Linked DNA regions of Homo sapiens: all the other regions are linked to region 4. Evidence: promoter capture Hi-C in 16 types of primary human blood cells and fetal thymus (Javierre and others, 2016). All regions are on one chromosome and are shown on one strand. The core of a region is centred on a gene start or on the middle of the fragment in contact, and the rest is flanking DNA. Distances in the headings are between cores, read along the strand shown. Region 1 has its middle 23 kb from the start of IGIP. Region 2 overlaps CYSTM1 (cysteine rich transmembrane module containing 1). Region 3 overlaps LOC101929719 (a long non-coding RNA gene). Region 4 holds the start of SLC4A9 (solute carrier family 4 member 9).

Region 1 (3,526 bases), core at 295-2,794, 210 kb after region 4:
GTTCCTGTAACTAGAGAGCAGGGATGGAATGGGATGAATGCAGGGCCAGGAAGGTGAGAACAAGGATCATACCTTTGCTCGGTGCCACACTTCAGGCTTTCCAAAGAGGATTCTCAAACTTTTCTCTCCACAGAAATGGCTCATGGGCAATGACACCAGGAGCAGAGGAGGCCCCTTTTTCTGTGCTGGGGTCTCAGCACCAACCAGACCAGTGTTGTGGCCACCCTGAATATGGAGTGTCTGGCAGAAGGGAAGGCTTCTGGCAGAAGGGGAGGCCGAGAGACCCACATCTGCAAAGGCCAGGGCCACAGGAAGAAAGCAGTGATATAAAGCACTTCCCAAAGTCCTAGGCTTGGGCCAAACTACGTATAGCAACTCAAGGGTTAATCCCCACCCCACCCTCATCAGTCTCATCCTAAAGAGAAAAGGAAGCAAAACAGAGACCACGGCTGCCTGAGGTGGCAGGCTGCCTTATCTGTTGTGGCTGCTGCTGGATAACCTGCGGCACTGCCATGGGTACTTGTGTGCCAGCTGAGGGACAGGCATTCCCAGGCGGGCCACCCTGGAGATCCCCCCTGGTGAGATCAAGAGGCATGAGACAGAGGCTATGCCCAAGGACTTAGGCCAGTTGGTGGCCCTGGACACATTTGCTCCTTAAGGCTGAGGCCTGGGTCAAGCTCCCAGCATTGCATAGCACCCTCCTCCCAGCCACCAGCCATGGGTTGGCACCCTGGTGAGGAGCTGGCCCTGCTGAGGGGCCCTGTACCCCTGTTCAGGGAGAACACAGGGATCCTCAGCCTTCTCTGAGCCAGCCTATGGTGGGTGGGCCTTGCAGGGGCTATCTCTTGCCCAGGTACTGGTATTCCCAAGGTGGTCTTTGGCTGCGTGGGTGGCACAGTCCTTACCTGGAAGCAGAGCAGCCTGCCCCACCCAGATCCATGTCACAGTGTAGAGTGGATGAGAAGTCAAAGCCAGGCAGGACCAGGCGTCTGGAATAGCCATTTTGTTGGATGGGTCCCAGGCCCAGGGCTCTGCTGCCCAGGCCCTGCCATTCTTCTGAGGGACAGGGGTGGGGAACTTATCCTAGCCAGGCCTTAAAAATGAGAAGGCCAGCCTGTAATCCCAGCAATTTAGGAGGCCGAGGCAGGCGGATCACGAGGTCAGGAGATCGAGACCATACTGGCTAACGCGGTGAAACCCTGTCTCTACTAAAAATACAAAAAATTAGCCGGGTGTGCTGGTGGGCGCTTGTAGTCCCAGCTACTCGGGAGGCTGAGGCAGGAGAATGGCATGAACCCGGAAGGCAGAGCTTTCAGTGAGCCGAGATTGTGCCATTGCACTCCAGCCTGGGTGATGGAGAGAGACTCTGTCTCCAAAAAAAAAAAAAAAACAAAAAAAAAAAAAAAATGAGAAGGCCAGAGAACCAGTGGAGTGGAGGCTGGGGGTGGGTGGGGTGTGTGAATGTCAATGTGCCAAACCTCATCACTCCTCTCCTAGGAGTTCTTTCATTAAATGCCCCAATCCCAGCTCCTCCTCCCATGGTCCATGGAACACAGAAGGCTGGGACTCAGCGGCCGCACAAGCCTGAAGCCCCACCCCTTAGCTGGCCTGAAAACTTCAGTCAGTGACCATGCGGGGCACTAGAACCTCCTGCCACCAATCAACAGGAAGCAAGGAGAGATGCCCGGGTATCCTCAGAGAGGGAGGGGCCATGCAGAGGGGCTGGCAGATTTTCTCGGTGTGGGGAATGAGGGATAGGGCACAGGAAGGGACGTTCTCAAGGGTCTAGGGTCATGTTTCAGGAGGAAGATAAGCACCAAGCCAAGTTCTACCAGGTATATGCCTGGCTCCTGCACCTCCCATGGTCCTTCCCATTCAGCCGGGCTTCCTGTCTCCTGGCCTTTCTATAGGTGCTCAAAGCATCCTGTGATTCTCTTTATCATGGCTTATAATTCTCTGCTTGCCAAGTGGTTTGATTAATGTCTGTGTCCCCTATAAACCATGACTCTACACGGTGGCATTCTAAGGATGGCAGAATCCCCAGAATCCTATACTTGTCTTCATCGCTGTCTACCTAAGAACTTAGCACTCCCCAGGGCGTAGCACACAGTAGGTGCTCAGTGTACATTTTAGTGAATGAATGAATAAAGGAATAAATTTCCCCATCAACCACCATGAGCTCTAGGAGGGCAGTAATTGCTTCTTGTTTGTTTTTGCATCCACAACCCGTGGCCTGGTGCCTGGCACAAAGTAGGTTCCCATTAAATTGTGTGGGATACTCACAATTTGGGTATCTCTCCTGGGAAGAAAGGGGTCCCTGGCAGGGATAAGGAGAAAAGGCAGTGCTAACTGGAAGAGGGTGAGAGGTGAGGTTTGGGTGGCTGAACTGGGGTGCTCTTCCAGACAGGTTTGGGTGAATGGGGAAGCTCTGTGGGAGCCACTCCTGGTAAGCACTCACCTATGAGAAAATTTGAGGAAGACACAATACTGCAGCAAGGTAGTAGTCTAAGCCAGAGCCAGAGGCCATGGCCACACAGGCTATTCCCCCACCCCATTCCCAGAGCCTCCTAAGGGTGGGGACAGGAGCAGGGCTCCAACAAGTGCCACTCTTTAGACCTGAGGGTCTTGTGGTCATGTGAGGCTCTGGACTTCAGGTCACTCCTTGCCTTTGCAGGGCCAGGGAGTCTAAGACACATACGGGAACTGAAGGACAGAGGGAGTGGGTGTGGGGTCTTGCCCTGGGCTTGGAGTAGATCCCCTGTACTGTCTGCAGAGTGTCAGTGCTGTGTCCTGGGAGATGAGGCTCCCCTTGGGGATGCAGAGTCACTGAGGGCCTCTAAACATGGGATCAATTGCTGGGTCTATTTTTGATGTCTGGATGAAGTAAGGAGGAAATAGTCTCCTAGGACCCAGGTTCCAGATGCTAAAGAAAGTTAATGTCTGGAGTTTGCAACCCAGTCCCACACCTCAGAGTCTGAAAGACACTTAGGTTATAAAGTGTCTCATGGACACCCTGGTGGGCAGTGCAGTGCCCTCATCCAGGACTTCCCTCCCTCAATGATTTGAGCATCTATCTAACCAACCCTGAATCAAAATAAGGACTGACACAGATGTCAGACCTGGCACTCCCCATGTGGAAACCTGTGCTGAATGTTAGGATTTGAAGCCAAAGCATATGTGAAGCTTCAGAATTAACTTTTAATTCTTGCTTTAAGTTGCAAAAAACGAAAACAAATAAAAAAAACCCCACCAAATCTAACCAAACCAAACCAAAACAAAATGTGGGTGATTAACTAGCAGACAAGTAGAGAGGGGCTGTTTCAAAAACTTCCTAAACATAACTTCCTTTTACTCAATGGTAGAAACTTTTACCTGGAGTGGATACTGGCTAGTATGTGGACACACAGGGGAATTTTTTTTTTTTTTTTTTAACACAGGTTTATCACCAACTCTGGCAGTTTTGAGAAAGACTCACTTGGGTTCTAAGGAACAGAATTTTTCTGTGAAAACTGCATCTCATCAAGCT
Region 2 (3,307 bases), core at 519-3,018, 150 kb after region 4:
CTGGCTAATTTTTGTATTTTTGGTAGAAACAGGGTTTCACTATGTTGGCCAGGCTGGTCTTGAATTCCTGACCTGAAGTGATCCACCCACCTTGGCCTCCCAAAGTGCTGGGATTACAGGCGTGAGCCACTGCACCTGGCCACTGAAGGGATTTAACAGGTATTTGCTGTACGAGGTTCCAGGGGAAAAGGGAAGAGTAGGTTATAAAACAATTTTTACTCATGCATGGAAGGCCACATGATACATGGAAGTATGTCAGGCTCTGGGTCAGAGATCTGGGGGATCATAGACAAGATGTTATTATAGCTTCTCTAAGACCCTGGTTCCACAGATGTAAAATTTGAGATACCACTACCCTGAAGAGCTGTTGTAAAACTTGGAAGCCGTGTTTACAATGCTCTCAGCCAAGTATCAGGGATTTCAGTAGGTGCTCAGAAAATGGTGGTAGTTGCTGACAAGCATAGCCTCTGGAATCAGATTGCTAGGTTTGAATCTCAGCTCCATCACTTCTTAGCTCTGTGACCATGAACAAGTTAGCCTTTCCATGCTTCAGTTTCTTCATCTATATGATGGAGATAAGAAGACCTACCTTGCAGGATTGTTCTTAGGACTAGATGAGCTAATATACAAAAGTGCTTGACACATAATAACTACTAGACAAATACTGGTTCTATTATTTGGCTAGTATTTATTATTTAATAATTAATACTTAAAAACTTAAACCACTGGCCCCAAACTCTTCTGGTTCTGGTGGTTTTAATCTAGAAATTGTTACCAAACATCCAGATTCTCTAGCCCCAGACTGCAGAGAGGCTCAGAAACACAGCCTGTCCAGTCAGGAGAGAGTTCTTTATAGTTCCAAATTTCCAAAACCTTCTCCCTCAGCAGGCCATCAGAAAAAGTCATGTATTTTTCAGCTGCTCATGAAGCTTATTAGGAAGACCTTTTCCTTCACTGGGTTCAAAAGCAATGGCTCACTTAAAATTTTAATTAAGGCCAGGTGCAGTGGCTCACACCTGTAATCCCAGTACTTTGGGAGGCCGAGGCGGGCAGATGGTTTGAGCCCAGGAACTCAAGACCAGCCTGTGTAACAGAGCGAGACCCTGTCTCTACAAAAAATACAAAAATTAGCTGGGCATCGTGGTGCATACCTGTGGTCCTGGCTACTCAGGTGGCTAAGGTGGGATTATTTGAGCCTTGGGAGGCAGAGGTTGGAGTGAGCCAAAGTTGCACCACTGCACTCCAACCTGGGCAACAGAGCAAGACCCTATTTCAAAAAAAAAAAAGAAGAAAAATAAATTTTCTTAAATTAAGACTCTATGGCAGTGGTTCTCAAAGGAGGGGTGATGTTGGCCCCTAGGGGACATTTGGTAATGTCTAGAGACATTTTCAGTTGTTATAACTGAGGTGATTGCTACTACTGGTATTTAATGGTAGAGGCTAGGGATGCTGCTGAGCATCCTACAATACACAGGACAGCCCCCACAACAAAAAATCATCTGGCCCAAGTGTCAATAGCACTGAGGCTGAGAAATTTTAACCTATAGAAAAGTTGCGTATGACAAAAGTGGGTGGGGTGGGGGACCAAAATACACAATGGTATCTACATTATAGTGGTAGCCAGGTATAAATGACATGTGCGTATAAACAAGAACTGACTAGGAAATAAGACAATGAAAATGATTTGAGAAAGTAGGGTGTGTGAATTATGATAATTAAAAAAATTTTTATGAGCATTATTACTATGTTTAAGGACCAGAAAAAGAGTGAAGGCCAGAACTCAGTGGAGGCAAGAATGCCCCAAAACTACATCTCTCCATTCTGATTATTAAGACATTTGTGACTGCTGGTATTATAACAGTGCTCCAACCCCCTGCTACATAATGAATATTCTACTCAGGTCCCAACAAATGAGTAAGGTGAGAAAGGAAAAAAAAAGTGCAAACAGCCAGGCGCGGTGGCTCACGCCTGTAATCCCAGTACTTTGGGAGGCTGAGGTGGGCAGATCACCTGAGGTCAGGAGTTTGAGACCAGCCTGGCCAACATGGTGAAACCCTGTCTCTACAAAAATACAAAATTACTGGGCACGGTGGCTCACGCCTGTAATCCCAGCACTTTGGGAGGGCAAGGCAGGTGAATCACAAGGTCAGGAGTTCGAGACCAGTCTGGTCAATATGGTGAAACCCCGCCTTTACTAAAAATACAAAAATTAGCTGGGCATGGTGGCAGGCACCTGTAGTCCCAGCTATTCAGGAGGCTGAGGCAGGAGAATCGCTTGAACCCGGGAGGCGGAGGTTGCAGTGAGCTGAGATCACGCCACTGCACCCTAGCCTGGGCAACAGAGCAAGACTCCATCTCAAAAAAAAAAAAAATTAGCCAGGCATGGTGTTGTGTGCCTGTAATCCCAGCTACTCGGAAGGCTCAGGCAGGATAATCACTTGAACCCAGGAGGCGGAGGTTGCAGTGAGCTGAGATCACACCATTGCACTCCAGCCTGGGCAACAGAGCAAGACTCCATCTCAAAAAAAAAAAAAAAGAAAAGAAAGAAAGTACGAGCAGTCTTTTCTACAAAATCAAGCCCAGAGTTTAACCACTTAAAAAAGCTTATTCCAGTCCCCTTCTGTCCTCTCTCCTGCATATCTTTAAACTCTTCTTCATCTTGAATCACGTGACAAGTAGTTACTGGTGAATGGTTAAATTAGGCAAGGTTTCCCATCATGGACCTTTCAGATAGTAGAGAAGACCTTAATTCTTTTTTTTTTTTTTTGAGATGGAGTCTCGCTCTGTCACCCAGGCTGGAGTGCAGTGGCGTGATCTCGGCTCACTGCAACCTCTGCCTCCTGGGTTCACATCATTCTCCTGCCTCAGCTTCCCGAGTAGCTGGGACTACAGGCGCCTGCCACCACACCTGGCTAATTTTTTGTATTTTTAGTAGAGACAGGGTTTCACCATGTTAGCCAGGATGGTCTCAATCTCCTGACCTCGTGATCCGCCTGCCTCGGCCTCCCAAAGTGCTGGGATTATAGGCGTGAGCCACCACACCCAGCCAAGAAGACCTTAATTCTTTAAAAATATTTTTTTATTTTAATTTTTGTGGGTACATAGTAGGTGTATATATTTATGGGGTACATGAGATGTTTTGATACAGGCATGTAATGCATCATAGAGAATGGGGTATCCTTTCCCTCAAGTATTTATCCTTTGTGTTACAAACAATCAAATTATACTCTTTTAGTTATTTTTAAATGTACAATAAAATTATTACTGACTATAGTCACTCTGTTGTGCTAGCAAATACCAGACTCAT
Region 3 (3,451 bases), core at 924-3,423, 190 kb after region 4:
GTATACCCCACCACGCCCAGCTAATTTTTTTGTATTTTTATTAAAGACAGGGTTTCACCATGTTAGCCAGGCTAGACTTGAACTCCCGACCTCAAGTGATCCACCTGTCTCGGCCTCCCAAAGTGGTGGGATTACAGGCATGAGTTACCGCGCCCTGTCAGGAGCTTAGTTGGGTAACTTGCTTTTCTCCTGAATGTGTGGCCGTAGCCAGGGCATGTAACACATTGGCTGGTTCCATGTTCTCTTCTGGAGCTGGGGGTGAACACAGCCTCCCCCAAATCCCACAGTTGAAAGTGTGGAAGAATGGCTTCCCAAGGAAAATTCAAGTTTAGTTACCAGAAGTAGGAGGAATGGATGCTGAGCAAACAAAAAACACAACTGACCCCTACAGGCCACCAATACTGAAACCACAAGCTTCCTGAAAGCTCCTCCTATTGAAAGGTTCTGTAATGTAATACAGCTATGAACCTGTGAATTCATAGGCTTGAATTCACTTGGAAATCAACTTACCTTCTCTTGTATTTCCAGAAAAGTTGTATCTAATGAGAAGCAAATTCTGGCACTCAGAGGTTGAGCCATGTTGATATCATTGCATAGAACCTGCCATTGGTTTTACCTAAATGCACTCTCCTTTCTGGAAGTACTACTTCTGAGGAAAGGGCATCAGGGAGCACTTAATGCTTTAAATGTGTTTGTACAGCAACTTGCGTTCTCAAGAGGTATCACATAAATGCATGTGTTTTTAATTTTGACTTGATTCCTGAAGTAGCCTGGCCTTCTGATAGTGATCTTAGAAAATCAACCTAGAAGAAGAATACATTTTTCTCCCAGGCTGTGAGTCAAATGACTATGGCAATGAAGTTCCGTCAACTATGAAGCATCCTTCTGCTTTTTAATCTTTTCAGTAATTAAGAAAATAAATTCAACACATATAAATTAGAAATAATCAGCTTATAAGTCTATTTGCATTTATATTTTTAAAATGGACCGATGACTTAGCACATGACATAAGAAAATAAGTCAGGGAAATATTAAATCCACATATTCATTCAACACATTTACTGAGGGCCTATGGCCTACCATGTGCCAGGGACTGCTCTAGGCCCTGGGGATGTAGAAATAAGCAAAACAGATTTTTTAAAGTCCTTGTGCATATGAAGCTTACATTCTAGTAGGTGTGTCCATTTATATACAGTCTTCAAGTCTCTGTGCCATTGACAAGAACTAGTACTATATACCAGGAAGCATGCATGGCGAATCCTCAGATTCCTCTATGCTAGGCTTTCTGCCAGTGCTCTGCATACATCATCTCATTATTCTCTTCTTCCTAAGAGATGTAGACACCTGTTCAAGGAGCCACAGGAAATGAGTGGTAGGGTCAAGACCAGAACACCTATATCTATATCTGCCTTTTAGCTCATATTTTCTCTTGGGGTGTGGTTGCGGGGGATGGTGGGAAGTGGTAGGGACTGAGGCATATCAGATAACATGCTCTGTGCAAAGGGAGCACTACTCATTCAGATCCAGCCACTTGACATTCAGGAATATAACTCAATGTGGCCAAGTTTTCTGATTTTTCAAGAGAAGCCAGCAAACAGGATTTTGACATGAAAACCAATTTCAAAATACCATGAAAGCCAAACCAAATTTGTCTGGGTACAACTAAGGCTACAGATCTGCCCCTCTGTTAGAGGTCATGCTGTGACCAGGAGGGTGCCTGGGGAGGTAGGATTCCAGATAGCAACCTTGAAACTAGTTGGCCAGCCGGGCACAGTGGCTCATGCCTGTAATCCCAGCACTTTGGGAGTCCAAGGCAGTTGATCATTTGAGGTCAGGAGTTCAAGACCAGCCTGGCCAACATGGTGAAACACCATCTCTACTGAAAATACAAAAAATTAGGTGGACGTGGTGGTACACAACTGTAATGCCAGCTACTCGGGAGGCTGAGGCAGGAGAATCACTTGAACCTGGGAGGTGGAGGCTGCAGTGAGCCAAGATCATGCCACTGCACTCCAGCCTGGGCAACTCTATCTCAAAAAACAAACAAACAAAAAACAACGAAAAACCCCAGAAACTAAATGTGTGTAGAAAACTGCAAATACATCTGTGGTACTTACACAAAGTGTTTCTCAGGTTGATTTTCAAAGACTAAGGTAGAAAAATGGGGCCCTTATTTACCAAAAAAGCAAAGTCCTTTAATGAAAGCTACCAGGGAGGCAGCAGCTGGGGCGCTCCAACACCTAGCCATGGAGGAGGTTGGCATGGAACCATCTGATGCTGGGCTGACAGGCCACGCTTCTCTGAAAAGGAAAATTTAACTTCAGGGTGGGCTTCATGTTACATCTGAGGCCCTAATAATGATCATTATGCTGTCAGCACACAAGACATGGTTCAAAAAAATTCTCCTCCTTAAAGTCACATTCTATGTGCTTTCTGGTCCTTCCTAACCTCCTCCACCCTGTGGCCTCCCACACTCAACACAACTTTCCTTTTCCCCACCCACTTGCCAAGGAACTGCGGCCATCAGACAACATATGGAGGTCTCATCACCGGGATGGTCCGTAACTGGAAAGGAGTTGGTCATCTGGTGTTAGCAGCTCCTCTTTGTGTCGTAGCCTTTGGAAGGAAAGAGGGAGGAACACAGAATAGCGTCCATGTTTAAAAAACATTTGCACCATCAACAGACTGAAACTCTACAAGACAGTGGTCTTACTTTAAAAGTGTAAAGGAATTCCCATCCTCTTGATCTTAGCAAGATCAGAAAACCTCTGTTTACTACAAGAATTGTTTCAGAAAGGGAAGTGAAATCTGGCACATGAAAAATCCCATTTCTATCCACTCTCAAGATAGTAACTTTGTAGCCATATGCCATGTGTATTTCATCATAGCAAAACAGTACTGTAGTGCACTGGGGACAGATTTGCTGCCACTGCTGCTGCTGCTGCTGCTGCTGCCATCACCACCTCCACCACCTCCTTCTGTTGCTTGGATAAAGCTGAGGCATGTGGCACTGTTGTGAGATTCTTAGAAGATACAGGCAAGTAGTCCTGGCTAGGACCCTACAATTGAGTTTGCACCATGAGGCTCTAAATCTCAGCCTCTCTAGGTCCTGGTACTGTATCTTTGGAAGACACACACAGGAAGGACTTAGATACCTTCTGAAAAAGATGGGACAAAGAAAGCTTATACTCCTCCTCTCCCCTCCTCTTGCTTGGAAGATCATTTAAGATTAAGAGATGAAGTGACTTTTCCCACTGAAGGGGACACAGGGCAATGCTATGATTCGGAGTGTCCAGAGGCCTGTGTTCCAGCCATGGTTCCCCTATGTCCTCACCTTGGGACCCAGCACTACTTACTCCACCTTTTTGAGTCTCAGTTTCCCCATCTAAGAAATGGGAATAATAATAGGACCAACCACATAGAGCTGTTGTGAGGGTTAATTCATTGAGAT
Region 4 (3,227 bases), core at 468-2,967:
CCCCTCTCCCAGCCACTGGAAAGGGACCCCAAGGAAGGGCCACAAACCTGTTCCCTCAGGGGGGCTTCCTCATTGTCAGAAGCCTTTCTTGGATGAGTAGAGCCTACAAAACAGGATTATGCAGTGATTAAGACCACAGGCTTTGGGGGTGGATCCACCAGGATTCCCTAATCACTTTTGCCACTGACAAGCTGTAAGAATTAGAGTATACCCTTCTCCACTCTGAGCCACAGTTTTCTCACCACTAAAATGGGGATAATTGTGGTACTATTTACAGGGTGGTTGTGAAGATCAAATGAGATACTGTGAAGATCAAATGGTAGGCCTAGTGCCTACCAAGTACATGTCTTCACAGAACTCTCTTACGATTCTAGCCCCCTGAATCTTCTCCCCACAACATTACCACCAGTTTCCTCTTGCTCATGAGTCCTGGGTTGGAGCCTGAACTAAGCCTGGGCTACTTCTAGCCCTGGAAGGTGCAGGGGAGATCTGAGACCCTGCCACACCAGGGTCTTGGTCCTGGGCCCAGGGAGGGGCTCTCACCCCAGCAGGGCCTGGTGCCTGTGGTCTGGTTGTAATGCTGGGGTCTCTGCAGCAGCAAGGCCTGCAACTGCCCTCTCAGCTCTGGGCTCAGCGACTCCACCCTGGTCACCTGCTCTGGAGAATGGATTGGGGGTCATCTCCTTCCTGAGAGTTCCCTGCCGCACACTCTTCCCCTTCTCCCTCTGCCCAGACACCTTTCCCTTCTGGGAGTCTCAGAATGCCAGGGCCAATGAACTTGCTCCTCCACCCTGCTTTTCCATGTCCACCCTGTGACAAGGGTAGACAATCCTAGGAGGGGTAGGGATGGGCTCTGGAAGATTTCAAGACTTTGGAGGGGAAATCCTGGGGAAAAGGCATGGCTACCCAGGCCCTTCCTGCAAAGGATCCCAGCCTACCCACGAGCTCCAGGAGGCTCTGAGCTGGGCAGTCCAGCAGTACAAGGCCCTCGGCCAGCAGGCTGCGGAGCTTCTGGAGGCTGGGCAGTGCCAGGGTGGGCACGTGGGGGGCACTCCACCGGCCTGCAGCCACCTCCAACTTCTCCTCAAACAGTACCCACCTGTGATGAAGGTGGGTAGACAGTGTTATTGAGGGCATTTCTCCCATGTCCAGGAGCAGAGATGCAGAGGAGCTAGGGAAGGCAAGGCAATGAGGGCATCCTGGGCCCAGTGGTGTGAAGTCTCCCCCCCACCCTGGCAGTCACCCCTCATCTAGGGTCTTGGGGATCTCAAAACTAGACTGCAGAGGAGGCTGGGCATCATGGAAGGTAAGACCCTGAAATAAGGGAACACAGCTGGGAAAATCCTAATTTTGGGCAGCCCCATAAGAAGCGCTGGGGGACATATAGGAGGCTCCAGCTGGGGAAGGGGAAGGATCCCACAGAACTGGCCTGCATCCAACTTACCTGCCTGTCTCTCTCCACTCCAGCGCCTGGGGCCAGCCCAGCAGCTCATTCAGCTGAATGAAGAGCAGAGGGTCTTTGGGTACTCCCAGTTCCTTGCTCTCTGTGTCTGAGGGGCCATCAGGGCTGGGGCCGGTGCCAGGGTCAGGGTTGCTGTCCAGCTCCCCTGAAGGAATATTTCTAGGAGCACTGGAGGCTTCAAACCCTTCCTGGCCTGGCAGCTTCATTTCCATGAGGCTTGCACAGAATCTCAGAACCAGTACAGTCCTAGGTTCTGAAGCCAGGGGCCCTCTGGCTGGTTGCATTTATAATGCATCCCCCACTGCAGCACAACACAAACAGAACAAGGCCTGCTGACTCCAGACTCTACCGGTCACCTACTCCCCTACTTGCTTACCCCACCCCCTGCTGGCATAAGAGTATTTGTAAGACTAGTCTGGCCTTTCCCAGGCTCTCCAGAAATGCCCAACCTGGGGCCAAAATGTGTATGTGCATTTCCTGTGGTATCAGGTCTGATCCCACTGTGTTTTGTGTAAAGAAACAGGAGTAAATGATTGGCTTGGGTCTGAGGACTTGGTACCCCCAGATTTTGCTGCCCCCCTCACTTGTATCAAATATAAATACCAAACACCCAGGACTGTTTTGGGTGTCACCAACACACCCCTGGGGCCACAGACACACCTATTTGGACAAACAGGGACCTAATAAATAATTGAGTCCATGGAAGCCAGACAGGGTAAGGGAGATAGCAGGCAGAGGACCTGCCCATTAAATGGGATAATGGTGGAAGACCTAGTGTCTGAGTCTTAAATTCTTTTCTTTTCTTTTTTTTTGAGACAGGGTCTCACTCTCTCACCCAGTCTGGAGTGTAGTGGCACAGTTATAGCTCACTGCACCTTTGACCTCCTAGCTCAAGTGATCCTCCCACCTCAGCCTCCAAGGTAGTTGGGACTACAGGTGCACGCCACCATGCCCAGCTAAGTCTTTTATTTTATTTTATTTTATTTTTGAGACGGAGTCTCGCTCTGTCGCCCAGGCTGGAGTGCAGTGGTGTGATCTCAGCTCACTGCAACCTTCACCTCTTGGGTTCAAGTGATTCTCCTGCCTCAGCCTCCCAAGTAGCTGAGATTACAGACATGTGCCACCAGGCCTGGCTGATTTTTATATTTTTAGTAGAGACAGGGTTTCACCATGTTGGCCAGGCTGGTCTCAAAAACTCCTGACCTCAGGTGATCCATCCGCCTCAGCCTCCCAAAGTGCTAGGATTACAAGCGTAAGCCACTGTGCCTGGCTGCCCAGCTAACGAGTCTTAAATTCTTTTGTCCAACAACACTTAGGAATTCCCTAATTTAGCTGTGTCCCTGGGATCTGCCCTGTGAGGATGGAGGAGCCCACTAGGGGGTGTAAGTGAAGGAGTTCCTGGAGCTAAATGAGCAAAGGAAAATGTGGTCCATTATTTGCAAATCCTGTTGACTCTATCTTCAAAATATACCCATAATCCAACCACATCTCCCCACCTCCAGCACTGCTACCCTGATTCAAACAACCATCATTTCTCACCTGAATTATTTCAGTAGCTTCCTGGTCTCTTGTAATAACCCCCCTGCTTCCACTCTTCCTCCCTTGCCCAAAGTCCATCCTCCACACCATACATGTCCTTTCAAAAGGCAGTTGAGCCACATTACTCTTCGGTTCAATACTCACCCAACACACTCCCATTACTCCTAGAAGAAGAAGAAAAAAAAATCAAGCTCCTTGTCGTGGCCTGCAAGATTCACACCCTGGC

Evidence for each region. Contacts are between HindIII fragments. The CHiCAGO score rates a contact against its expected background, and 5 or more counts as called.
Region 1: a contact is called between a fragment that was not itself captured here and the fragment with the promoter of SLC4A9 in region 4, in 2 of 17 cell types (M0 macrophages and endothelial precursors). The highest score is 5.3, in M0 macrophages.
Region 2: a contact is called between a fragment that was not itself captured here and the fragment with the promoter of SLC4A9 in region 4, in 1 of 17 cell types (endothelial precursors). The highest score is 5.2, in endothelial precursors.
Region 3: a fragment that was not itself captured here is called in contact with the fragment with the promoter of SLC4A9 in region 4 in 6 of 17 cell types (M0 macrophages, endothelial precursors, M1 macrophages and 3 more); the score reaches 16.9 in M0 macrophages.

What each region holds. Positions count from the first base shown.
Region 1 is chr5:140,146,838-140,150,363 of GRCh38, reverse strand. No RefSeq gene overlaps it. Among named protein-coding and RNA genes, the nearest start is that of IGIP, 23 kb to the right of the region's middle. RefSeq lists an enhancer at 3,382-3,526. The HindIII fragment of the contact is 3,283 bases long and covers 1-3,185 here.
Region 2 is chr5:140,208,499-140,211,805 of GRCh38, reverse strand. All of the region lies in intron 2 of CYSTM1 (cysteine rich transmembrane module containing 1), which reads right to left. Among named protein-coding and RNA genes, the nearest start is that of CYSTM1, 35 kb to the right of the region's middle. The HindIII fragment of the contact is 1,674 bases long and covers 932-2,605 here.
Region 3 is chr5:140,166,530-140,169,980 of GRCh38, reverse strand. It overlaps LOC101929719 (a long non-coding RNA gene), which reads right to left. Exons shown (of 5, transcript NR_130738.1): 3 at 2,508-2,616; 4 at 2,179-2,300; 5 at 1,196-1,344. Among named protein-coding and RNA genes, the nearest start is that of CYSTM1, 6.9 kb to the left of the region's middle. RefSeq lists a silencer at 1-176. The HindIII fragment of the contact is 2,022 bases long and covers 1,163-3,184 here.
Region 4 is chr5:140,358,684-140,361,910 of GRCh38, reverse strand. It overlaps SLC4A9 (solute carrier family 4 member 9), which reads right to left and starts at 1,717. Exons shown (of 22, transcript NM_031467.3): 1 at 1,445-1,717; 2 at 939-1,099; 3 at 544-657; 4 at 48-103. The coding sequence starts at 1,674. The HindIII fragment of the contact is 10,887 bases long and covers 1-3,227 here.